Linked DNA regions of Homo sapiens: all the other regions are linked to region 2. Evidence: promoter capture Hi-C in 16 types of primary human blood cells and fetal thymus (Javierre and others, 2016). All regions are on one chromosome and are shown on one strand. Each heading gives the region's core, a stretch centred on a gene start or on the middle of the fragment in contact. The rest is flanking DNA. Distances are from core to core; before and after follow the strand shown.

The links. The method cuts DNA at HindIII sites, captures the fragments that hold promoters and counts their contacts. A CHiCAGO score of 5 or more calls a contact.
Region 1: a fragment that was not itself captured here is called in contact with the fragment with the promoter of METTL6 in region 2 in 8 of 17 cell types (naive CD8 T cells, fetal thymus, activated CD4 T cells and 5 more); the score reaches 7.9 in naive CD8 T cells.
Region 3: a contact is called between a fragment that was not itself captured here and the fragment with the promoter of METTL6 in region 2, in 6 of 17 cell types (activated CD4 T cells, naive CD8 T cells, naive B cells and 3 more). The highest score is 7.0, in activated CD4 T cells.
Region 4: a fragment that was not itself captured here is called in contact with the fragment with the promoter of METTL6 in region 2 in 12 of 17 cell types (monocytes, total B cells, naive B cells and 9 more); the score reaches 8.5 in monocytes.
Region 5: a fragment that was not itself captured here is called in contact with the fragment with the promoter of METTL6 in region 2 in 5 of 17 cell types (M2 macrophages, M1 macrophages, M0 macrophages and 2 more); the score reaches 6.7 in M2 macrophages.
Region 6: a fragment that was not itself captured here is called in contact with the fragment with the promoter of METTL6 in region 2 in 1 of 17 cell types (naive B cells); the score reaches 5.2 in naive B cells.
Region 7: a fragment that was not itself captured here is called in contact with the fragment with the promoter of METTL6 in region 2 in 1 of 17 cell types (monocytes); the score reaches 6.3 in monocytes.

Annotation. Positions count from the first base shown.
Region 1 is chr3:15,211,682-15,215,484 of GRCh38, reverse strand. CAPN7 (calpain 7) reads right to left here. Exons shown (of 21, transcript NM_014296.3): 2 at 3,273-3,381. Among named protein-coding and RNA genes, the nearest start is that of CAPN7, 7.3 kb to the right of the region's middle. The HindIII fragment of the contact is 7,625 bases long and covers 1-3,803 here.
Region 2 is chr3:15,425,284-15,428,844 of GRCh38, reverse strand. It overlaps METTL6 (methyltransferase 6, tRNA N3-cytidine), which reads left to right and starts at 1,301. Exons shown (of 6, transcript NM_152396.4): 1 at 1,301-1,443; 2 at 2,210-2,558. The coding sequence starts at 2,334. It overlaps EAF1 (ELL associated factor 1), which reads right to left and starts at 1,247. Exons shown (of 6, transcript NM_033083.7): 1 at 963-1,247. The coding sequence starts at 1,065. RefSeq lists an enhancer at 891-1,170 and a silencer at 1,167-1,330. The HindIII fragment of the contact is 9,714 bases long and covers 1-3,561 here.
Region 3 is chr3:15,194,385-15,198,213 of GRCh38, reverse strand. It overlaps the pseudogene COL6A4P1. Among named protein-coding and RNA genes, the nearest start is that of CAPN7, 9.9 kb to the left of the region's middle. The HindIII fragment of the contact is 736 bases long and covers 1,570-2,305 here.
Region 4 is chr3:15,251,175-15,254,941 of GRCh38, reverse strand. It overlaps CAPN7 (calpain 7), which reads right to left. Exons shown (of 21, transcript NM_014296.3): 21 at 2,026-3,767. The coding sequence ends at 3,682. SH3BP5 (SH3 domain binding protein 5) reads left to right here. Exons shown (of 9, transcript NM_004844.5): 9 at 1-589. SH3BP5-AS1 (SH3BP5 antisense RNA 1) reads right to left here and starts at 758. Exons shown (of 3, transcript NR_046084.1): 1 at 1-758. The HindIII fragment of the contact is 1,756 bases long and covers 373-2,128 here.
Region 5 is chr3:15,568,145-15,571,795 of GRCh38, reverse strand. HACL1 (2-hydroxyacyl-CoA lyase 1) reads left to right here. Exons shown (of 17, transcript NM_012260.4): 12 at 27-128; 13 at 3,210-3,364. Among named protein-coding and RNA genes, the nearest start is that of HACL1, 32 kb to the left of the region's middle. The HindIII fragment of the contact is 4,200 bases long and covers 29-3,651 here.
Region 6 is chr3:15,235,722-15,239,294 of GRCh38, reverse strand. All of the region lies in intron 12 of CAPN7 (calpain 7), which reads right to left. Among named protein-coding and RNA genes, the nearest start is that of SH3BP5-AS1, 17 kb to the left of the region's middle. The HindIII fragment of the contact is 3,544 bases long and covers 310-3,573 here.
Region 7 is chr3:15,271,793-15,275,561 of GRCh38, reverse strand. The region is part of intron 3 of SH3BP5 (SH3 domain binding protein 5); the gene reads left to right. Among named protein-coding and RNA genes, the nearest start is that of SH3BP5-AS1, 19 kb to the right of the region's middle. The HindIII fragment of the contact is 9,619 bases long and covers 1-3,769 here.

The sequences.
Region 1 (3,803 bases), core at 548-3,047, 210 kb after region 2:
AATGGGTAAGAGGTTTCTCTTGGGGTGATGAAAACTTTCTAAAATTAGATAGTGGGGATGACTGCACAACTCTGGGAATAGGCTAAAAACACCTGAATTATATACTTTAAGAGGGTGAATTTTATGATATGGAAATTGTATCTCGCTAAACTTGCTATTTAAGAAAAGTCTGAGATTTTGTTAGTTCTTTAAAGTTACGTGTTTTTGGTTTTTTTTTAAATACACGGTCTCACTAGGTTGCCCAGGCTGGCCTTAAACTCTTAAACTACTGGGCTCAAGTGACCCTTCTGCCTTAGCCTCCCAAGTGGCTGGAACTACAGGCACTCACCACTGTGCCCAGTTTGTGCTGATGTTTTCAAAACTTTAGCCTTCTTAAATGCCTCTCTGAAGTATATACTAATTCCATTGATGAAAAAGATACCAAAGCTCAAAAATGTTGAAATATCTAGCCCAGTGTTTCTCAGCCTGGCATTATTGACATTTTGGGCTGGATAATTCTTTGTTGTGGGAGACTTTTTAGCAACAGCCTTGGCCTCTACCCAGCTAAATCCCAGAAGCATATTCCTTGCCACCCAGCAGCGTGAAAACCAAAAACTTCTCCAGAAATTGCCAAATGTCCCCTGGGGGGCAAATTGCTTTCTACTGAGACCCATTGATCTAGTCTAAGATTTCACAGCTACAAGTGAAAGGGTAGAGACTCAACAGGGATCTTTTAATTCCAAGTCTTGAACTCTGTACTACGACGGTTAATTTTACTTTTTATTTTTCGAGACAGGGTCTTACTCTGTCATCCAGGCTGAGGGCAGTGGTGTAATCACGGGTCAGTGCAGCCTCAACCTCCTGGGCTCAAGCAATCTTCCTGCCTCAACCTCTGAGGAGCTGGGACTACAGGCACACACCACCATGCCCAGCAAATTTTTTCAATTTTTGTAGGGGTGAAGTCTATGTTGCCTAGGCTGATCTTGAACTCCTAGATTCAAGGGATTCTCCTGCCTCAGCTTCCCAAAGTGCTGGGATTACAGGCATGAGCCACTGTGCCGGCCTATACTGGTTAATTTTAAATTATGTTACCTTTCCCCACCCCAAAATCAACTCTCTCTCAGGATTCTCTTAACTGTCAGCAGACTATCTTGTTTTAAAACTTAGGGTTCCTAACAGGATTTTTATTTGAAAAAGGACTTTTCTGCTTAAAATAATAAATAAGAAAATCCTTTAAATTGTCTAGAGATTATACTCCATTTCTTCAACAAAAGCAGAAAGAAGTTGGTAAAACAAGCTATGTTATGCTTTAAAAATCCTTTTTAAGGCCAGGCATGGTGGCTCACGCCTGTAATCCCAGCACTTTGGGAGGCCGAGGCGGGTGGATCACGAGGTCAGGAGATCGAGACCATCCTGGCTAACATGGTGAAATCCTGTCTCTACTAAAAATATAAAAAATCAGCTGGGTGTGGTGGCAGGCGCCTGTAGTCTCAGCTACTGGGGAGGCTGACGCAGGAGAATGGCGTGAACCCCGGAGGCGGAACTTGGCAGTGAGCTGAGATCGCGCCACTGCACTCCAGCCTGGAAGACAGAACGAGACTCCACCTCAAAAAAAAAAAAAAAAAATCCTTTTTGAACTCTATTTCACTGGCAAGTCTTTATTCTTCAAGAGATTGGGGTGTCTCATTTGATGCTTGAATATCACATATATATCAATGTTTAGAATTTATTTCCCAAAAATCACATGTAAGTTTTTAGGCTTAGCTGTATTTAATATAAAGTAAGAATAATTTTTAAAATTCCTTAGAAAAAAATGATTCATATTTATTTTTTCCAATTGTCACAAGGATTTCAAGGGTTTAAAGAGCAATCTTACTGGAATCAAGACCCTAGGGCATAAATGTGCTTGACTGTGTGTACATATGGAAAAGAAAGATGGAAATATACCTTAGGCTGCCAGAGATTCTACTCCTGGAATAATATCACCATATAATCTCTCCTTTCTAGAGCATTCTGCTTTAACATTTAGTCTAGCATGCTTCAGAAAGGGGTTTCCATGATAGTGCAATGTTGACACTGTTCTCTCTCCACACCTGATGAAGTCCTCCTGAGGACATGGACTGTCACTCATCTATTACCCTGTACTTACCATAGAGCCCAAACATGTATTCAATACATAGTTATTGAAATGAAGAAAACTATCTATGAAAAAACAAGGAGATCATGGAAGTAAACATGAAAGACTACCTTCCCTACTTCAAAGATAATTTTATTTGAAAACACTGGTTATGAAACAAAGTTCCTAATATTGGGCAGTTAAATTTAAGAACTTCATTTACTTGGCTGGGAAAAGAAAGTTCCTTTGAATTTTATATGATATTTTGAATACATGAATCAATACTTTGTATCAAGTGAGGTTCCAATAACACAGGCAGTACACTTTTCAATACATGCAATTTCTGGGCACTGTATTAAAAGTAAACCGCCTTGTTTTTAAGGGAACTGTCATAACAAGGAATCCAATGATTAAATCTACTTTATCCCAACGATGTTCTTGTAATTGCTCGTATCTACTCAAAATGAGTGGTAGAAAGTTACACAAAGTCCATGAGAATAAATATTCTTCTGCTTGGCGCTTTATCATGCAGCAACAGAAAAAGAGGGTTAAAAAGAATCCCTACAGAAATCAATGTATTTGTAAATACAATGTCAACATCAGTTACCTCTAACAAAACTGTGACCATTAAGACTATATATTTCTATTATTGTACCTGTTGTGCTGTTTACAAAAATAAATACAAGTAGTTCCAAGTCTCTGTTTACATGTCACTTTCCCAAGATATGGTTTTAAAGAGTTTAGCAAAGGTCTGAAAGTAGAAGACACCGAAAGAGAAGACACTGTGAACCTACTGCTGAAGTCTGTAAACACTGAAGAGGAACAGTCACTTAATTTTATAAGGAAGAGACGTGACAGATATTTTAAAAGCAGACTTTAACTGAATCCTAATCCTAACTTTGCCAATGATAAATTGTTTGAACATAGGTAATTCACCATCTCTGCACTCTGGGAAATTAGGAAACTGGACTATATTGTCTATAAGGTTCCTCTTCAAAGATCTATGACTTATTTCTAAATGACTTTTAAAGAGGTGATTACCAAAAGTGGAATGAGCAGCAACAGAGTGAGCATCAAGATTCAAAGATAAAAATGAAGAAGAGAAACAAACATGGGGGAAAGACATGATGGGAGAAAAGAAAAAATAGAGTGACAAGTTTAGTAGTCCTTTACTAACCTGCTGAATGTAGAGCTTGAACTCTTTCCAGATACTCAGTTATTTTTTCTTGAATATTTTCTAGGCTTGATCCTGCCATCTCAGCATAAATTAAGGCTTGTGCAGCTTCCTAAAAATGAAAGAATTCAAAGGAATCCAATAGATGTATTACAACTTGAATTTTCTTTATCACATTCTCATTCAATATTGGTTTCCATGAATGACAAAACAAGAATGTCTTTAAATTATTATTAATAGTAATTTTTTTCATAAAGTAGTTATACAATCTTCCAATGTTTTCTTCAGTATTCAATGTTCTCAATTTTCTTTTACTTTTCTTTTTTGAGACAGAGTTTTGCTCTGTCACCCAGGCTGGAGTGCAGTGGTGTGATCTCAGCTCAGCTCAACCTCCCCAGGTTCAAGTGATTCTTGGGCCTCAGCCTCCCGAGTAGCTGGGACTATAGGTGTACACCACCATACCTGGTTAATTTTTGTATTTTTAGTAGAGATTGGGTTCTGCCATGTTGGCCAGGCTGGTCTTGAACTCCTGGC
Region 2 (3,561 bases), core at 52-2,551:
TGTTGAGTCACATCTATTAGGTCCTCTGACAAAAACAAGTCTTAACAACAGCGTTAGCACCACGGAAACCAGAAGTTCATGAATCACGGAGGGATGCTCTGTCAGCCAATTCCTAACTGCCAAACCTTCACCCAGGACATAGGGTGGAAGTGCACTCTCTCAACAGCGTCTATAATTATGTAGAAAAAGGTCCGGCATAATGACTATTTGGACATTCCTTACGCCTGCTCTCTTCTGCTTCCAAACGTAGACCAATCTTTAACCTATCCCAGGCTCACGAACTCTGATTTGACTCTTTACCCACAAGGAACTTGGTCTGGAGGAAAAGCCCGGGTGGTATAGGTGACCTCAAAAGACATCCAAGTCAAATGAAGCACAGAAAGGAGATGGAAGAAGACTCTGATGAGGCGCAGAGAGGATGCCAATTCTTTGGCTGTAGAGGGGACAAAGCACAGTATTTGGGAGTCCAGGACCAAGTCGGAGGAGAAAAGCAGGGAAGAGAATGGGTTCTAAGGCAGTGGATGAGGCTCATAACAAACAAGAAGCGTCTTTTAAATGTGGAGAACCCTGATGGGAGCATCGGAAAGGAGGGGAGGGGTTTCGAGGGAGAAGTGGACCCGGATAAGAGGGGGGAGGTTTGCCTTGGGGGAGGGAGGTTTGCCTTAGGGGCGAGGTTGGGGGCGGGGAGGGATGGAAATGGAAAGAGGCCAAAGACCTTTGGAACTAGTGTTTGAGACTGTGAGGTAGAAGAATAGTAGGGAGTGACGAAGATTTGGGAGAAATAATCTGGGTAAAAGAAGGGACAAATCGATGTCCCAAAGGATTTGGGGTTCGAGAGAAAGTAACTGACGCTGGCAGGGGGTTCCCTGGAATCTGAAGGGCCGAGGGAAGAAAGGAAGGAGTCAAGGTTGATATGTGGCGGCTGGAGCGGCCGAAGGGAACCGTGGGGAGCGCTGACTTACAACGAATAGTGTGGAAGGAGGCCCGCGGCCGCTTCTCGAAGCTCTCCCCGAGCCTCAGGCAATGTTCCTCGCGGTCCAGCAGCGGGTTTGCGGTCCCATTCATGGCCCCGCACCTGCCTCGCACCCAGATCGGCGCTCTCCCGGTGCAGCCGCGATCCGAGCTTCTGGCGCTGGCGTCTGGGAGGACTGTGCTTCCGGGCCACCGCTCTGGAAGACAAGGAGAGCCGAGCCGGCACCCACCCGGGTCCAGAAGCAAGTTCTCTCCTCTGCGTGGGGGTGAGAGAGGAATCTGAGGAGGCAAGGCCGTGGGACTTCCGGCGTCGGGTAGGAACTTCCGGGTTCCTAGCGGAAGTGGCGGGGGCGGTGCCATGGCAAAAGAACTCCCGGATAATCCGAATTCGTGGTCCTCAGAATTGGTTTAGGGTTGTTTCGCGGTTCTTCCCGTATTCTGCCTCCGAGGCCCAGTGGGGCTGGCTGTGGGGTGAGTGCGCCTGGCCCTAGCCCTGCAGGTGAATTTAGGAACTGATGACGGTGAGCCCTGAGCGTGGCTGACTAAATTAACGCGGGTCGGCTAGCCATCATGGACGCCCTCCTCAGGGTCTAGGGGCCCATGCAGCCTAGTCTATCCTGAGGGTCCTGAGATGGATCCTCGGGACCTCAGCCACGCGTCATTGGGTCTCTTTCTCCACTTTGCCCGGTGATGGCGGTGCGAGGGTCTCAGTCCCTGCAAAGTGACGCTCCCTCTGGTTCCTATGACAGCCTCTTGTGAGTGTGATCAGGAAATGAGCCCACCCAGGCTTAGCTTCATTTCCCCCGAAAAAACGGAGGTCCGACCCTTGGGAAACGATGACCTCACTTGTATCTGACAATTGACCACCCGCTTCCAGCTAAGGCCATTGTGGTTTTTAAGTCACCCCTTTCGCGGGCACCGAAAATTGAGGAATATTTTCTTCGCAAGGTTTCCCAGTCAGTTCTTGAGAGCGTCCTTTTTCGTAAACTAAATCGATTTATTGTAATAGTTGACTCATCTGGTTTGAATAAAAGTATGGTGCATGAGATAGTCTGGCCACTGAAATGAATGTAAGCCCACTGAAGGTAGGGACTGTGTGTTTGTCTTCTTTGTGACCTCTCATATAGCGGGAAGGATTTTTTTTTGTACAGTCTGCATCTCATAAACATTTGGTGAATTGAACCTGGCGTCTTGAACTGTAACCACTAACCAGAATCTAATTCTTTTCTCTGCGAAGCCCCCTGTGCTGTTTGAGGCGTGAAACTCACCTCAGGAAATGTATCTGATCCATTAGCGTGGATTCATATTATTTGGTGATGGAGAATCTTCAGCTGTGTTAAGTGTTACCGTCAGTTTCAGAGATGGCTTCTTTGCAAAGGAAAGGGCTGCAGGCAAGGATTCTCACCTCTGAAGAAGAGGAGAAACTGAAAAGAGACCAAACTTTGGTGTCTGATTTTAAACAGCAGAAATTGGAACAAGAGGCTCAGAAAAATTGGGATCTTTTTTACAAAAGAAATAGCACTAATTTCTTCAAAGACAGACACTGGACCACCAGAGAGTTTGAGGAGCTAAGATCATGTAGAGAGGTAAGCTAATATTACGCCTTATCTGAGCTGTTCTTCATTTAAAATGTGAAGAGGGTGCCATGGCTCATGCCTGTAATCCCAGTACTTGGGGAGGCCAAGGCAGGCGGATCACGAAGTCAAGAGATCGAGACCATCCTGGCCAACATGATGAAACCCCGTCTTTACTAAAAATACAAAAATTAGCTGGGTGTGGTGGTGCTCGCCTGTAGTCCCAGCTACTTGGAAGGCTGAGGCAGGAGAATCGCTTGAACCCGGGAGGCGGAGATAGCAGTGAGCCGAGATTGTGCCACTGCACTCCAGCCTGGTGACAGAACGAGACTCTGTCTCAAAAGAAAAAAAAATGTGAAGAGGTGTGCTGTATTGCATTCCTAGGGAGAGTGCGAAGTAGAGAATTTAAGAAGCCTATCAAAATGCTTTGCGTTTTAGGAGAGAAATATACTGTTTGGTCTTAACACCAAAGTTTTAGCAGTTTCTGGTTTGGTTAACATATAGGAGAGAGAACTTTAGTGGGTGTTTTCTATTTCTTTAAGCTGATCTGATAGTTGTAAACATTATATATTAAATTCAAGAGCCAGGTCTGGTGGCTATTGCCAGCTACTCCAGAGGCTGAGGCAGGCGGCTTGTGCCTGTGAATAGTCAACATGAATTAGCCAAGCCTAGGCAGCATAGTGAGACCCTATGTTCTGAATTTTAAAATTTTAAACATTAAAAATTTTAAAAACAAAAATATAAATTCATGCTAAGTGACTTCAGTGACAGATTCAGAATAATATAATAGTTAATGTTAGTAACTATTTACCATGGCTGTTTTCTACATGGCCTATCATTTGACCCTTATACCGGCTCTGTGAAGTGTAAGTATTAGTATTGTACTCATTTGTCCCCAAGGTAAAATTGAGGCACAGAGCTGTTTAAGTGATTTACCCAAGGATAGAATGCAGGGGAGGAGTTGAGATTTGGGTGCTGGCAGTTTAACTCCAGAGCCGAGTTAGCCATTGTGCTG
Region 3 (3,829 bases), core at 688-3,187, 230 kb after region 2:
GCAACCCATTTGTGAATAAGCCAGGTAAATCAACTTTGTGCTAGAAGAGGATCAACTGCTTGAGATTGCAAATGATGGTGGCCTTAAAAGTATGTTTGAGACAACTTCAAATCTTCGTATGTTCTGGACTAAAGTCAAAGTGGTAGCCTGAGATTGCCACAAAAGCACTGAAAAGCCTGCTTCCATTTCTAACATCCTATCTTTATGAAGCAGGGTTTTTTGTAGTGAGAGAAACCATAATGAGATTATGGAGTAGACTGGACATAAGCAACACATTTCAGGTGTCACTGTCTTCCATCACCCCCAGATGGGACCATCTAGTTGCAGGAAAACAAGCTCAGGGCTCCCACATATTCTGCATTATGTGAATTGTGTAATTATTTCATCATATATTACAATGTAATAATAGTAGTAACAAAGTGCACAATAAATGTAGTGTGCTCGAATCATCCCCTCCCCATCCCCGCAGTCTGTGGAAAAATGGTCTTTCATGGAACTGGTCCCTGACACCAAAAAGGTTGGGGACTGCTGATGTAGAGATTAAATTTTTTTCATGTCCACTCTAATGACGAAAACAAGCAAATTGATGGAGAAAGTCATTTCACAATTTTGTTACCATTTTCTAACTTTGCAAACCTTCAGCACACTGATTAATATCTCTAAGCCTCAATTTTTCTCATCTGTAAAATAGGTAGATTAGTAACTACCTCATAAAGTTTTAGAAGGATTGAATGAGATAATGCCAGTAAAGCCTTTAGCACAACACCTGGCACATATGAAGTATTTGACAAAGTTATGTCCTGCAACACTTGACTGTGCTCTTTACTCTTCATGACTGTGTTCTTTTGGGATAATCTGTCAGTGCAGGGGCAGAAGAAATGGTTACAGAACCATTTAACCCTTATCTCATTTACCTCTGAGCTGCTTGGAATTCCACTTCCTGAACTCTGATCATCTTGGGAAACAGAAGCAACAACAGCATCCTCTGAAGAGCTCAGTCATTGATAGGCAATGGGAGTGTTTATCACATCTTTTTCTTATAGTCTCTGAGTGCAGCTTCACAATCCTTTACTGCACCCTTAAGCCAGATGTGTTTTGGAATTTGAAATTCACAGAGAACTCCCAGACAGTAGGACTGAATCTTGATAAGGAACTGGAAGCATATACCAAACTGCATTTCAGAATTTTTCTAGATTATTGCAGTGTGCTTGCCTCTTCCTCCCTTTCGAGTAGGATTTTCCTATAGGGATCATCTTATGCCTCTTATCACTGTGCGTTGGGTGTGTGTGTGGGCGGGGGGGGGGGTGCAGATTGTCTCTTTAACAGAGCTCTAATCAAAAGGAGTGATATTTAAGGAGCTGCACCCAAATGAACCACACCAAGGCATCTCATCTTCACCTGAACCTGATTTAGATGACAAGCTCCTGGACTTCAAGCTGATGTTTTAATAGTTTGAGACTTGAGAATTCTAGGGGTGTGATTTGAATGTATTTTGCATGTGGGAGGCATGAGAAATATGGCCAGAAAGCAAACTGTGGCAGACTGTATTTTACAAATAGGCCAAAAGCTTTATCTTACATCCCACGTGATCTCCTTACAAGGGTATCTTCATGTCCCTTCTTTTAAGCGGTAGGATCTTTGTCCCCTACCATGCATCCTGGACATAACTTTGTGACTGCCTTGACTAATAGTGTATAGTGGAAGTGCTACCATCTAACTTATGAGGCTAAATCATAAAATGCCACTCACTTGTACCTTGCTCTTATCATCTAGACACCTTGGACTGGATGACATAATTTGCATTGTTTTAGTAGTTACAGCTTCTACGTGGCTGATGGCTAAAATAGTATTCACAGTCCTCTTCCAGAGCAGGAACTTGAAAGTGCTTCCACTTCACAAATTCCCAAAGGTTAAATGTATAATGGCATCAAATTAAGGAAGTTTATTCTTTTCAGATGATTGCAAGCTGGTTTATTCAGTAGAAATAGAAAATAAGATTGTTTTCTCCCTTTTCAAAAGAAATTTTGCTGTAGCAGATATTCCTATTACACAACAAGTGGAAATTGTGTTGGTTTATACACAGTTTTTCCCAGGCACAGGGAACCATATTAGTATGAGTAGAATTTAAAACATCAACAGGATGGCTACTACTCAAGCCGGAACCTTTTCAGCTCAAAATAAAACTACGCCTGTCTTGAGAGCAGTTCCACCAGCTCAGACTTCCATTCCATCTACACAGTCTCTGAATGCAATCCAGAATTTCCACGTTATGGTTTTTTTTTTTCATTGTTGTTGTTCTTAAGCTTTTTAAAATTTTTGTATGTGTACTTTTAAAAAAGTTTTCAGCTTTTATTTCAGATACAAGGGATGCATGTATAGGATTGTTACATGGGTACATTGGACCTAGGTAGTGAGCAGAGTAACCATCCATTATGATTTTTTGTGTTTTTATTATTTATTTATTTATTTATTTATTTATTTTATTATACTTTAAGTTCTGGGATATACATGTGCAGAATGTGCAGGTTTGCTACATAGGTATACATGTGCCATGGTGGTTGGGTGTACCCATCAACCCGTCGTCTACATTAGGTATTTCTCCTAATGCTCTCCTTCCCCTAGCCCCCCACCCCGCAACAGGCCCTGGTGTATGATGTTCCCCACCCTGTGTCCATGTATTCACATTATTCAACTCCACCTTATGAATGAGAACATGCAGTGTTTGGTTTTCTGTTCCTGTGTTAGTTTGCTGAGAATTATGGTTTCCAGCTTCATCCATGTCCTTGCAAAGGACATGAACTCATTCTTTTTATGGCTGCATAATATTCCATAGGGTATATGTGCCACAGTTTCTTTATCCAATCTATCATTAATGGTCATTTGGGTTGGTTCCAAGTCTTTGCTATTATGAATTGTGCTGCAATAAACATACATGTGCATGTGTCTTCATAGTAGAATGATTTATAATCCTTTGGGTATATACCCAGTAATGGGATTGCTGGGTCAAATGGTATTTCTGGTTCTAGATACTTGAGGAATTGTCACACTGTCTTCCACAGTGGTTGAAGTAATTTACACTCCCACCAACAGTGTAAAAGCATCCTTATTTCTCCACATCCTCTCCAGCATCTGTTGTTTCCTGACTTTTTAAGGATCGCCATTCTAACTGGCATGAGGTGGTATCTCATTGTGGTTTTGATTTGCATTCTCTAATGACCAGTGATGATAAGCTTTTTTTCATAGTTTCTTGGCCACATAAATGTCTTCTTTTGAGAAGTATCTTTTCATATCCTTTGCCTACTTTTTAATGGGTTTTTTTTTCATGTAAATGTGTTTAAGTTCCTTGTAGATTCTGGATAGTAGCTCTTTTTCAGATGGATAGATTGCAAAAATTTTCTTCCATTCTGTATGTTGCCTATTCATTTTGATGATAGTTTCTTTTGCTGTGCAGGAGCTCTTTAGTTTAATTAGGTCCTACTTGTCAATTTTGGGTTTTGTTGCCCTTGCTTTTGGTGTTTTAGTTATGAAGTCTTTGCCCATGCCTATGTCCTGAATGGCATTGCCTAGGTTTTCTTCTAGGGTTTTCGTGGTTTTAGGTCTTATGTTTAAGTCTTTAATCCATCTTGAGTTAATTTTTGTGTAAGGTGAAAGGAAGGGATCCAGTTTCAGCTTTCTACATATGGCTAGCCAGTTTTCCCAGCACCATTTATTAAATAGGGAATCCTTTCCCCATTGGCTGTTTTTGTTAGGTTTGTCAAAGATCAGGTGGTTGTGGATGTGTGGCGTTATTTCTGAGGACTCTGTTCTGTTCCATTGGTCTATATATCTG
Region 4 (3,767 bases), core at 1-2,500, 170 kb after region 2:
TTCTTTTTTGACTGATACAGTATCTTAATTACAAGGTTATTTTGTACTTGTCTTAATACACTAAGTGTAATAAAAACGGCTTGAGAAAAGTTTCTCCTTTCTGTGACTTCAAATAAGAACTCCCAGTATTGCCTAAATCTTCTAGGCAACCCTTTTTCCATAAGGAAGAGCATGGAGTGCTGTGGTCACCAGTAATCATTTTCAATTAATTAAGGTCATGAACAGTAATAATTTAAGCCTTGTTTACCAAGGTTTGAATTCTACTTTTGCTGTTGCTAAAGCTGTGGGCAATGAGGAGACACAGTGGCAGATAAAGACGAGGTGGTGACGCTGGAGGAGTGGGCCTCGGCTGCACACTGCAGTCTCGAAGCTTAAGTGTTGCTGTCAGTCAGTTCTCATCCCCAGAGAATTATTTAATTAATTAACTGGGGGGGGTACACTGGGGCATTAGACTTTTAAAAGCTCCCCGAGGGAATTCAAATGTGCATTCAGAGTTGAGAATCAGATGGATTCTTTCTTTTGTGGAAATGTTTTATAATATTGGACTCTTAATCCGCATTTCATTATTAAAGCATGCTGTGGAGAAAAAGTTCTTGGTTGGCCAATCATGAGGTTTAAGTTTCAGAAATAACCCTTTGCAGTATCAAACAAGTGTTTTACCTAGTAGTTAATAAATATTTCATCTAGGAAAGTTCATAGAAGTCCCTTGTGCTATTTAAGAACATTAAACAGCCGGCTGGGCCCAAGGGCTCATGCCTGTAATCCCAGCACTTTGGGAGGCCAAGGCTGGTGGATCACTTGAGCCCAGGAGTTCGAGACCAGCCTGGGCAACATAGTGAAACCCAGTCTTTACCAAAAATACAAAAATTGGCCAGTCTTGTAATTTGGGTCTCAAGCAAGAACACTTAACAGCATACCTGAATTTGACTAGTGACCTTCAGGGTTCATTCAGTTCTCATAAAATCTCCTTACACCCTTTTACCTGTAGTAAAGACACTGAGACTTGCTTGACTTACCATTAGCAAAAACTTCCCTGCAATTGAGGCAATTCTTTTTCCTCCTAGAAGAAACACCATCTGGAAAATAGCCCAAGCTAGGATAAAGTTTTTACAGCAGAGTCAAGTTATACAGTCTAATAACTAGAAATTTCTAGGTACTTCTCGCAGAGAATGAAAGTGGGAAGGAGTTTTCTAACACTGGGGCTTTCTTTCCCTTGTCTTTACAAAAGACAAAGCCTAGGCAGTCAGTCAGTAGCACTAGAGTATTCCTTATGGGCATTAAGAATTTCTCTTGTTTCCTGCCTCAATCCCCCTTTCCCATCAGCCTACCACTTGCTTGTCTCCTACACCAGAAAAGGATGCAGACCACCTTTTGACCAGGGCTCCCTTCTCACACTATCACCTAGTCAAATTTCTAGTTTTACGTAGTCTGCCCCTACTGCTGTCACTGTGGCCTCTTTATCTCCACCACATCTGACATTTAATTATACTCTTCTGGGAATTCTGTTCACTGGGCTTCTTAATCCTCCCCCAACCCTCGTTTTCTTGTATCTCCTGTTAGTCTATGTATTTTTTTCTAAATTAGAAATACTTTCTAAAAAACTTCCCCCAAATCAGTTCTTAACCATCTTTAGTTCACGTGACTCTTGACTTTTTGGGTGATCTCACTTACTATACCACGTTGATTCCAGATCTGGATTTTCTGGGCAATTTAATGTGTCAAAACTTACCTTTCACTGAAGCTATGAGCATCTGTCCATGTGCTGAATTAGAAACTTGAGTCATCCTCTCTAACAATTCAACTGGTCTGTCTGTTATTTAGAACCTCCAAAAGGCCTGGATTGTTTTTCCTCCCTCTACAATGGGTCTAGATCTTGTCCCTCCCTCGACTAGACGGCCGTGACTGTGGGTGCCATTAGACACACACAGCAGCTCAATCAGGGCTCAGGGAAGAAGGCTTGTGAACCCTGGGCAAAATCTTTTAATCTCTTAGGCTTATTTCCTCAATTGTAAGAAGTACAAATAATAGTATCTATACTTTATTCAGCTATTGGGAAGATTAAAAAGAAAAATATACACATTGGGTACATAGTAAACACTCAATGGTCAGTAACCTGTCTTTTGAAGCTTTACCTTCAAGGTCCAAGTTAAAGTATCAATTCTTCAAATACAATTTTTTATATTGGTCCAGCCAAAATTAATCTTTCCCTTATTCATACACTGGTGGCATGTTTTTAGAGCTCTATTATAGAAATCAGTGCCTTTAAGTTGTTCATATATAGGTCTCTTCTAATAAATTTGATGGCAGGGATTAGGTTTTTAGTTTGCATCCTGTACAAGATCTTTACCACAACAGGTTCAAATCATGTGTTCATAATATAGTTCTTATGTTCTGGATTTTTTCTTTTTAAAAAGTAACAGAAAACTTGTTAAATTTGTCCACCTAAAATTAATAGGCTAAAACTGAAAGCATGAAGTATTTACCAAAGTGAAATCTCATTAGTGTAATAATCTACCACTACTCTGTTAAAGAACAGATTTTTGTTGAAGTATATATTTTCATGCAAATAATCTGTTCTCATTTACATGAAACACGACAGATGAAATCTTTCAATAAATCTAACTTAAACTATGCAATATCCGTAAGTATAAACATTTTATTTCAATTTAAGGTAGTAGCAATACAAAATAAGTTTTGATAATTATAAAGTAGAGACAATGAAAAATCCCACCCTATTTTTAGAATTTTAAAATATTGAGCATCATTCTGTCCTGATGGGTTTTTATGTAAAGTGGGAATTTACATGACACCAGTATCTTGGCAATTCACTTTTTTTGAATGCTACATATCCCAATCACCATATATTAAATTCTCTATTTTCTTCAAAGTGCTATTGCCACAAGAGACTGAACGATACAGCAATTTAAAAAAAGACCACACAAACTAAATTGTAATGTCTTCAATATCTCAATTACTGTTTTTTAAAAATAAAAACTGCAGTAGTGAATTTCTTTAAGTTCTTGCTACATGATTGAATGGGAGATAACCTCAACAATTTTCATTCTTAGGCATGAGCATCTTCATGCTAAGGTAGTCTATACTTAAAAGCTTTATTCTTTCATAACACCTGGGCAACAAATATTTTAAAATCATAAATAATGCAAAATTAAAATCAGTTATGGTGGCACAATTCATTTGGTAACTAGTTGCCCAAGATGTATAGTAGAATCAAGCAGGTTTAACTTCCACATGCTCTGCAAAAAAGGGAAACAATGGAAATATTTCGGTATATTAATCTAGCCCACTATTCCACTCAAGGAATCTATATCCTTTCTTTTTCTCATCTGGTCTCAGTTCCTTTATCCTCTTAGCAAAGGCATCTCACAGTGATGACTGAGTCTAATTTTAATCATATGCACTTTTTATACAAAATGGCCCCTAAAATGCAAGCCAACTCTATATACACAAAACCATGTAAACGGTACCTCTAGGTGATTTAGGTAATTCTGACTATATACAGTTCTTACCAAACACCCTGACAAGCACCAGATTCCACTGTAACACGTTTTTAGAGATTTAATTCCATTCTGATTGTTCTGCTTACTGTCCTGAAGATTTGCGTCCTTATTTGAAGAACTGATGTTTGGTAAGTATAAAAGCCAGTAACTTGAGATTTCTCCATCACTGAAGTTGTGTGATCTTGATGGGGATAATACTATTAAAGTCCAAGAAAAAAGGTCCTTCTTGTTTAGGCAAAAAGGTACTAG
Region 5 (3,651 bases), core at 879-3,378, 140 kb before region 2:
TGTGTGTGTGTTTTTTTTTTTTTAAGCTTTTAGAGGAACTTGATAAAACACCATGGCAGTATCCTCCAGAGAGCAAGTGGTGGAAAACTCTGAGAGAAAAAATGAAGAGCAATGAAGCTGCATCCAAGGTAAAATCGGACCTACTGACGCTCAATAACAGGTCAGGCTCATGATTCAGTTACTTCTGCCGTAATGTGACATGTGCATTCCTAAAAATCACCTTGATGTGCAAAATTGTGCAGTGAAAACCCCAGGTCTCATGGAAAAAGGGATTTAGTGGCACAACTCTCAAAAACTTTGTGTAACATAAAAATAAGATAAGAACCTAATGTTTTAAACGTGTTAAATGGTTAAGAAATATATGCCAATGAATATAGCATTTTACCTTGAAAAAGACCTGAAGTTTCTGAAAGGTTGTAGCTTGTGAGTTACTGTGAGCTGGTGGAAGGAAGGTGATTGGACATTGGATAGAAAGTCATAATAGTGGAAGTGGATGGGTGTGCCTTCAGTTTGATGGTGGCATAGAACATCACAATTAAACACCTGTAATCCTAGTGCTTTAGGAGGCCAAGGCAGTAAGATCAATTGAGGCCTGGAGTTTGAGACCAACCTGGGCATAGCAAGACCTTGTCTCTACAAAAAAAAAAAGAAAAGCCAGATGTGGTGGCACACACCTGTTGTCTTGTCTCCTCAGGAGGCTGAGGTTGGAGGATTGCTTGACTCTAGGAGTTGAGGTGGCAGTGCAGTAGTAGATCATGCCACTGCACTCAAGCCTGGGTGACAGAGTGAGAACCTGTCTCTAAAAGAAAAACAAATTAACTATTAAGTGGTTTTTTTTTTTTTGAATCCTTAAATCTTGGGTTGAGATGTTTTTCTGCTTTTAAGATATAGGTCCTTCAGGGCGTGCTATTATAATAGCTGTTTCATAAAAATTGAAATTTTGATCCAATGTATAGCCTTCTTTTTTATTTAACATTTTTATCACTGCTGGAAATTTTTTTGCAGCGCTCTCATTTGCACTCTTGGCTTTGCCTGGTAGCTAAGGTTTTGGAAATTGTAGTGATGATACTAGAAACCATCAAACTGTCTACTACTAGCACTAAAATGAGTCAGTGCTGCAGGATTTGGCGATTTCTAGTAAAGTGTGTGTGTGTGTGTGTGCATGTGTGTGTATTGTGCTTTCCCTATGTGAGAAAGGTGGTTTTTTTTTATTGTTTTGTGTATTCATATGTATCTTTGTTCAGCTGGGTGCAGTTTTCTGTGTCTTATGCGTGATTCCACCAGTGTTTCTTACTGGTGGAATCACGCATAAGCAAATATAAAATTTGAGTTATGCTCACTTGGTTCCCTAATATATCAATTGTCTTAGAATAAATTCACATTTTCGCATCAAACATTATAGCAGAATTGATTGTACATGAATCTGTCTTACATTGGAATTTTTTTTTTTTTTGGGGACAGAGTCTCACTCTGTCGCCAGGCTAGAGGGCTGGAGTGCAATGGCGTGATCTTGGCTCACTGCAACCTCTGCCTCGCAGGTTTAAGCAATTCTCCTGCATCAGCCTCCCAAGTAGCTGGGACTACAGACGTGTGCCACCACGCCCAGCTAATTTTTGTATTTTTGGTAGAGATGGAGTTTCACCATGTTGGCCAGGATGGTCTTGATCTCTTGACCTCGTGATCCGCCCGCCTTGGCCTCCCAAAGTGCTGGGATTACAGGCATGAGCCACCGTGCCTGGCCTACATTAGAATTTTAATCAATGACTGTTTCTATCTGGAGCCAGTCTCAATTTTTTTTTTTTTTTGAGATGGAGTTTCACTCTTGTTGCCCAGGCTGGAGTGCAGTGGCGCGATCTCAGCTCACTGCAACCTCTGCCTTCCAGTTTCAAGCAATTCTCCTGCCTCAGCCTCCCGAGTAGCTGGGATTACAGGTAGCTGGCACCATGCCTGGCTACTTTTTTTTTTTTTCTTTTTTGAGATGGAGTCTTGCTTTTGTTGCCCAGGCTGGAGTGCAATGACACGAGCTTGGCTCACCGCAACCTCCGCCTCCTGGGTTCATGCAATTCTCCTGCCTCAGCATCCCGAGTAGCTGGATTACAGGCATGTGCCACCATGCCTGACTAATTTTGTATTTTTAATAGAGACAGAGCTTCTCCATGTTGGTCAGGCTGGTCTCGAACTCCCGACCTCAGGTGACCTGCCCACCTCGGCCTCCCAAAGTGCTGGGATTACAGGCGTGAGCCACCGCACCCAGCCAATTTTTGTATTTTTTTTAGTAGAGACAGGATTTCACCATGTTGGCCAGGATGATCTCGAACTCCTAACCTCGTGATCCGCCCGCCTTGGCCTCCCAAAGTGCTGGGATTACAGGCGTGAGCTACCATGCCTGGCCACCAGTCTCAATTTTATTTCCTGAGTCATATCATGACTAATCTTTTCTTTCGCATAGGAACGATGTTGGTTTAAGATAGAAGGGACTTGCTTCTCTTCTTTAGTGCAGGAGTATAGGAGGGTCCCTCTTTACCTTGTGTATAATCTCCAGCAGAACAAAGTAGCATAGGTGAAGAGGCAGTCCTGGGGCCAGATGGGACTGTTGCTGCTAAAGCTCTCTATGGCTTTTTCTCAGCCCTGAAAGGCATGTGGCTAGACAAAGGCGTTTACCTTGCTGTTTTTCTCTCCATTCAGGGACTCTTTAGAATAGTGGGGGTAAGATAGCTCCTTTAACTCTTAAGTGTGTTGGGGGAAAAACTAGATTTTCAGATTGTATTCTAAAATTGTGACATTTTAAGTTTAGGGTCATAGTTCAGATGAAAATATTCTGGAATAAATTTCACTTTTTCTAAGGCACCGTTTTCCTAAGAGTGCTCAAATAAGAACGTTTAGTTTTATGTAACCCAGTGCTTCTCAGCTGTCTTTACTGTAGGACTTCTCAATGTCTTTAATACACTCCTGTGCATTGCAGATCTCCAAGAGGCGGGATATTCCCGAGCTTATTTAATTGTGTTCCCAACTGGGACTGTGGTACACATGTCCCCCAGGGCTGTTCACAGGTCAGCCAACTTCTCAGAGTGGCCATTTTATAGCCATTTGGAAACCTTGTAGCTTGTAGTTGTTGCGTATTTCCAAATAAGTTTGATAGCATCTTATTAACATTGGTTATTTTCATTGTATCCCAATTTAATTTGATTATATTCCCATCTACTTTTCAGGAACTAGCTTCTAAAAAATCCCTGCCTATGAATTATTACACAGTATTCTACCATGTTCAAGAACAACTACCTAGAGACTGTTTCGTGGTAAGTGAAGGAGCAAATACTATGGACATTGGACGGACTGTGCTTCAGAACTACCTTCCTCGTCACAGGTAAGACTTCTAAAGAAGAAAGAAGTCGTAATTCATTATAATGTGTTTAATATGAAACTGTAATAGTGCAGATTAAGAAGACGTTTGAGAATTAATACATGTTTAGTATGTAAGGACATATTTCATAAAAGTATCCTTAGGTGAGGTTTTGTAGAGTTTTTATGCTTGATGTGTTCTTGGTATCATGATAATTGTTTACTTAGTATTCTAGGAATATGTTTATAGTCTTCCAAGCAAACATGGGTGGCTTTTTTCTATCCTTGACAAATTAGTTCCTAGCAGTCTAA
Region 6 (3,573 bases), core at 832-3,331, 190 kb after region 2:
TGTTTGGAAGACATCTAAACAACCACAACAACACATTCCTTTGCTATTTTAAATGGTGACAAATTGTGGCTGGGGGTAGATGTATGTGATTTCTGGACATAAGACTCATTCCTCTTAGGCTATATTCCCTAGAAGCTTCATTAATACAGTTTCTTTCATCAGTATCTTCTACACTGTATGTGTCTCACCACACATAAGTCAACCGACATTTAACTCTAATTCCTTTCTTTTCAAAAAATTTAACTCATTTCAGGACTCTCAACACTTCCTAAAAGAGGAGCACAAAGGAGAGCAAATTGTTGCTAAGCTTTTCAGAGACAGACCCCCAGCATCAGTGATATTCAAGGACACCAAGATATGGATGTAGATTTTGTTTGGATGGGTAGAGAACCAGCTCTAAAAAGAAGGAATGCTAGAGAACAAAAAAAAAAAAAAAAAAAAAAAATTTGATTTTGCTGAAGCATCCAATTTCTAAAGTTATTTCCAAGTAGCAGCAAAGGAAAAGCCTTGGACAGCTTCAGAAATTCTATGATAACACCTGTCTGAACTGAAGTCAGCACCCTGATCTGGAGATGTAACTCCATAGTAGACTATGAAACATCACCTCAAAAACACAAAAATGACCCAAAGAGAGAATCGCTGAGACTAAAATGAAGACCTTGGAATATGCAAGCAGATTAGAGGTAGTCAAACAAAAATGATAGCACTTTTATGCAAATATTAATAAATATTGAAAATCTCTTTAAGTGAAGAAAGTCACCAATGATGTAATACTGAGCAGAGCTGTCAGAGTCTAAGATTAGGTCTTTCTGCAAAAAAGAGGTCCTAGAGATAAATGCTTGAATCAAATATGGAAATATTTTAAAACAGAAGTCAGAATTGGCCAGGCGTGGGGGCTCACGCCTGTAATCCCAGCACTTTGGGAGGCCAAGGTGGGTGGATCATGAGGTCAGGAGATCGAGACCATCCTGGCTAACGTGGAGAAACCCTGTCTCTACTAAAAATATAAAAAATTGGCCGGGCGTGGTGGTGGGGCGCCTGTAGTCTCAGCTACTTGGGGGGCTGAGGCAGGAGAATGGCATGAACCTGGGAGGCGGAGCTTGCAATGAGCTGAGACCGCGCCACTGCACTCCAGCCTGGGCGACACAGTGAGACTGTCTCAAAAAAAAAAAAAAAAAAAAAAAAAGAAGTCAGAATTAAATAAACACTTCAAAATATAAGTAGCAAAAAATAAAAAATAAAAATAATGCACCTAGGAAACTCCTTGAATATATACCCAATAAAAGAGTACTGGAGAAAACCTTTATATATAAATATACATTTTTTGAGGCAGGGTGTCACTGTGTCAACTAGGCTGGAGTGCAGTGGTGTGATCTCAGCTCACTGCAACATTGGGCTCAAGTGATCCTCCTACCTCAGCCTCCCAATTAGCTGGGACTACAGGCACGTGCCACCATGCCCAGCTAATTTTTTAAAAAATTATTTATTGTAGAGATGGGGTCTTGCTATGTTGCTCAGGCTGGTCTTGAACTCGTGGCCTCAAGCATTCCTCCTGCCTCAGCCTCCCAAAGTGCTAGGATTATAGGGGTGACCCACGGTGCCCAGCCACTTAAAATGTTTTGACTGGCATTTGTGGCAAATTATAATTTTAAAAAACCCCAAACTTATTGGCGTACTTAATTTCACATAATTTTTATATTTTTTGCTTTAAGTGGGCAATTTTTATGCCACTTTTAAAGAAGCAATTCTATAGAGCATGGCTGGGGGGTTCAACACTGACCAGCTAATTTAGAAAGTTCCAAGACTATAAATTTTAAAATGGTGCAATAGGTCCCTACTGTCCTCATTAACTTCATATACAGTCATGCACCATATAATGAAATGTTAAGACAGCGATGAACTACATATATCATAGTGGTTCCATAAGATTATAATGGAGCTGGAAAAGTTCTATTGCCAATTGACATCCTGATAATCCTGCCCCCATGTGGGCCTAGGCTAATGTGTGTGTTTATGTTTCGGATTTTAAGAAAACAGCCTAAAAAAAAATTAACAGAAAAAAGCTCAGGTAAAGTACTTGTGTACAGCTCTACAATGTGTTTGTGTTTTCAGCTAGTTGTTATTACAGAGCCAGAAAGTTAAAAAAAATTTAAAGTTTATAAAGTAAAAAATTACAGTAAGCCAAGGTTAATTTATTATTGGGCTGCTCCGATGGTAATGGGTTAATCAGAACTTATTAATAACATATCACTAAAGTTGGTATACAACCACCACTGATGATTTGACTGGCTTAGAACAATTCATTATTGAAGAAAAAAATATTTTTATAAAGTCTACATGTCTAGCATTCATAAAGTCTACAGTAGTGTACAGCAATGTCCTAGGCTTTCCCATTCACTCACCACTCACTCACTCACCCAAAGCAACTTCCAGTCCTGCAAGCTCCAACCATGTAAGTGCCCTATACAGGTGTACCATTTAACAAAATCTTTTATACTGTATTTTTACTGTGTTTTTCTATGTTCAGATATACAAATACCAAGTTGTTATAACTGCCTACAGTATTCAATACAATAACATGCTGTACAGGTTTGTAGTCTAGGAGCACTAGGCTATACCACAGAGCTTGGGTGTATAGTAGGCTGTACCATCTAGGTTTGTGTAAGTACATTTTATGATGTTCATGCCACAACAAAATCACCTAACAATGCATTTCTTAGAATGTACACTCATCATTAAGCAACACGTGACTGTAAATCCATGTGCCACACATAAGAAAACCAGTCTAATTAACACACAGTAGTGCTCTGTTATTGCTGACTGATCACTACTTCTATTCGTTCTGTTATCAAGGGTCCTTCATTAAGAAATAGTACTTGTTTAATAATCTTTTTATTTTTGAATCCATAGAACAAATCCATTTTTCAGTTAAAAATAACAACAACCTCAGAAGTAATGAAGTCAAATATTCTAACCAGATATTGCAGAAACAGGGTCTGTCTGAAAGGCCTGACAGCATGCAAGGGCTTCTAGGAAGAAAAATACTTGCTTACACAAAACACACTGGCATGTATCTTATGCCCAGCTATCTTCCTATTTTCTTCCCCTTTCACAATTTTTTATTTTTTCAGACAGGGTCTCTATCACTCAGGCTGAAGCACAGTGGTGTGATCATGGCTCAATGCAGCCTTGATCTTCTGTGCTCAAGCAATCTTCCCACCTCAGCCTCTTGAGTAGCTGGAATTATAGATATATGGCACCATGCCCAGCTAATTTTTTTTTATTTTTTGTAGCGGTGGGGTCTTACTATGTTGCCCAGGCTGGTTTTGAACTCCTGGCCTCGAACTCCTGGCCTCAAGAGATCCTTCTGCATCAGCTTCCCAAAGTATCGGGATTATAAATGTGAGCCACCATGCCTGGCCCACTTTCATAAGTATTTATTCAGTGTCTACTATGCTTTAGAGCAGGGGTCCCCAACCCCCGGGCCACAGACAGGTACTGGTCCATGGCCTGTTAGGAACTGGGCCGCATAGCAGGAGGTGAGCAGTGGGCAAGTGAGCATTACAGCCTGAG
Region 7 (3,769 bases), core at 1,270-3,769, 150 kb after region 2:
CATTGGGTTTCTCTGCTGTGAGTGAATCACTGCATGACTTGTGCACACCACAGGACCTGAGAGCATAGAGCCCTATTCAAATAATGTATTAAATACCAGGGCCTGGGGCCTTTATTACGATGTGAAGGTAAAATGTTATCGGTTGTACCAAAGATTTCTAGGTGTCATCTTTCATATGATGGTGAGAACCAGATAGCCAGCTCTCTCCGGGATTGTGAAATTGATTGGTTTCTGACTTTGGAAGTCCTGTGTTTTGTGATGACACTGAGAAGCAATGTCGCAGTTAAACTTTCCTCAGTTAGATAAGTGTGTAAACTCTTTGGTGCTTCCTGTCTTGGCCTGGCCTGCTGCCTGATACACTCCTGCTTTGCAGAATCTTCCCTAGGAGACCTTTTGACAGCATGGTGCTTCCTCAGTGCACCAGAGGGAGAGATCTCCCTCTCTTCCCCTTCTTACAAGGGCACTGATCTCCTCATGAGGGTCCCACCCTCAGGACCTCATCTAACCCTAATTACTTCCTGATAAGGTTTGGGTCTGTGCTCCCTCCCAAATCTCCTGTCGAATTGTAATCAGCGATGTTGGAGGTGGGGCTTGGCGGGAGATGATTTAATCATGGAGGCTGTTGCTCATGAATGGTATAGCACCACCTCCCAAGCACTGTTGTTTGGACAATGAGTTCTCATGAGATCTGGTTTAAAAGTGTGTAGCGACTGGGTGTGGCGGCTCACACCTGCAACCCTGTAATCCCAGCACTTTGGGAGGCCGAGGCAGGTAGATCATCTGAGGTCAGGAGTTTGAGACCGGCTTGGCCAACATGGCGAAACCCTGTCTCTACTAAAAATACAAAAATTATTATTGGTGTCTTAGCAGCTACTCTTGCCATGTATTGCTGGCAGGGAGACTGTCCAGTGGTGGTGGCATGGACCTGTAGTCCCAGCTACTCAGGAGGCTGAGGCAGGAGAATTACTTGAACCCGGGAGGCAGAGGTTGCATTGAGCCAAGATCGCACCACTATACTCCAGCCTGGGCGATAGAGTGAGATTCAGTCTCAGACAACCAACCAACCAACAAAAAAAAAGTGTGTAGCACTTTCCCCGCACCCAGGATCCAAGTCCAGGCACTTTGTGAGATGCCCTGTTCCCCCTTTGCCTTCTGCCATGATTGTAAGTATCCTGAGGCCTCCCCAGAAGCTGAGCAGATACCAGAATCAGGCTTCTTGTACAGCCTGCTGAACTGTGAGCCGATTAAGCCTCTTTTCTTTATAAATTACGCAGTCTCAGGTATTTCTTTCTTTCTTTCTTTCTTTTTTTTTTGTTGAGCTAGAGTCTTGCTCTGTCACCCAGGCTAGAGTGCAATGGTGTGATCTTAGCTCACTGCAACCTCCGCCTCCTGGGTTCAGGTGATTCTCCTGCCTCAGCCTCCCGAGTAGCTGGGACTATAGACTTCTGCCACCACACCCAGCTAATTTTTTTGTATTTTTAGTAGAGACGGTGTTTCACCATGTTGGGCAGGCTAGTCTTGAATTCCTGGCCTCAAGTGATCCACCTGCCTTGGCCTCCCCAAAGTGCTGGGATTCCAGGCGTGAGCCACCATGCCCGGCCCATAGGTATTTCTTTATAGCAGTACAAGAATGGACTAATATGGCTCCCAAAGGCCCCACTTCCTAATATAATCACATTAGGGATTAGGGCTTCAATATGTAAATTTGGGTGGGCACAAACATTCAGTCCATAACAGGAGCCTTCCTGGAAATCTCACTCAGTGTTCATTTACCTCTCATTAGCTGTCACTTACCAGAGGGACCAGTTGTAGTGAGGGCTGGGAAGTGAGGGTCTTTAGCTGAGATATTGCCTCCCTTTGAGACCACAACGAATAGAGAGAATAGACAGTGGGGCATGACAGGTGCCCAGTGCTTACTTGAGTGAATGAACCGGTAAGTGCATGAATTATGGAGAGATGGCATCTGGTTTCTGTGGGTTAAATGTGGAATGAGGCCTCACATTAGTTGTACCTGTGATATGGCAAGGCAAACATGTATCCTATGTCACTGTACAGGAGAAGGAATCTCGCAGAAACTTCAGACGCTTGTCCGGAATTTGACAGCACATGTTCTTCTCAAAGGCAGCTTCACATGGGCTTCCTCTTTTCCTTTGTAGAGATCTGGTTCTCTTATTTGGAACTCATCAGATACATGGCAGAGGGTGTGAAGAGGTGCTGGGCCCGTGGTACAGCAGCCACCTTTCAGAAGGCCGTCAAAAGAGCATCTTTTCTTGCTTGAAGAAATAAGGGATTCATAACTGAAGCAGAGAGAACTGGGAGAAGAGAGTTTACCCTTAAATGTTGCTGAATTGAAATACTAAAAAATTCCTAAAAAGGCAAATACAAATCCCATTTTAGGATCCTGTGGGATTCATCCTGTCTCCTGGAGTTGGTGTGAAGCATATAGGTAGGAGAGGCCACCTATGGGTAGGGGGTGGAGTGGCTTTTAAGGTGACAGGTTCCCTCTGCTTCCTCTCGTTCCCAGCAGCTTGGCCTGCGGAGGCCCTGCAGGGCTGTCCTCACATGAAAGAACTAAGAACCACTAATGGGCCTGGAGGCACGAGGTGGGGCAGGGGTTGGGGGGGTGAGTTGGTCAGCTCTAGGGAGGGTGGGCATCCTTGTTCTCCTTGTGTAGCTGAGGCACACCTGAGTGGAAGTGGGCGACTGGTCCCAGGGCCACATGGTGAGTCCACAGCAGGGGCAGGTCCCTGGGCCACTTTGGTTGAAGGTTTAGCCTGGCATTCATTCAAGGTCTTCACTGGAGTCCTTTTTAAAAATTTGATCTGAGGTATCATCGAATCTCCTACAGGCACTCTGTTTTGTAATGTCTTTATCCTACAGGCACTCTGTTTTGTAATGTCTTTATCCTACAGGCACTCTGTTTTGTAATATGTCTTTATCCTACGGGCACTCTGTTTTGTAATGTCTTTATCCTACAGGCACTCTGTTTTGTAATGTCTTTATCCTACAGGCACTCTGTTTTGTAATGTCTTTAGAGTCTCAAATCCTTCCTTCTGTCCCCCACCTCATCAGCCCATGTTTTCAAATCATTTGTGTCCTTAGTCCTGAGTTCGGGATCCTCCTCCTTTAAGAGGCCTTCCTTGGTTCTTTGTACTGGAAATAATTTCTCCTTCACATTCCCTGCCATTCCTCCCTTCCTGCTGTGGCACTGTCACATACAGCGTTGTATTACAGACTTCTGAGTGTCCACTCCATGCTTGGTTCGGGTCTCCATCTGATTGTCATCGTCGCCTGGAGGGCTGGGTCTGGGTCTGGTATGCAGTACACAATCACAGAGTGCTCGGGAAAAGCTGTTCTTTGCCTTGGGGGCTGGCGTGCTCTGAGTCTCTGATTTTTTTGTTCCCCCTTCTTTAACCTTCTTCACAAAGCGTCCTCAGCCTGTGGTTTCTGAAGACTTCCTCGAAGTCATGCAAGAATTGCTTGGGGAAGGGTGGGGTCCCTGTAGTTCCCCTCTTCCCGAGTCCCAGGGGCTGCCTTAGGGACGTCCCACCAGGGCTTATGTAACTGACTTGGGGATGTGGTTAACCGAGGGAGGGTGGTGGGACGAGGGAGGGTGGTGGGACGCTGCAGAGGCGGGTTTGTGGCTTCTACCCTGCTGGGGAATTCAAGGTGAGCCTGTAGAGTGGTGACTGTGATGTTTCAGTGCTGATTTCTCATGCAGTCACACAGCTGCCATCACATGGCCCATCTTGGGGTAAAGGTATCTACT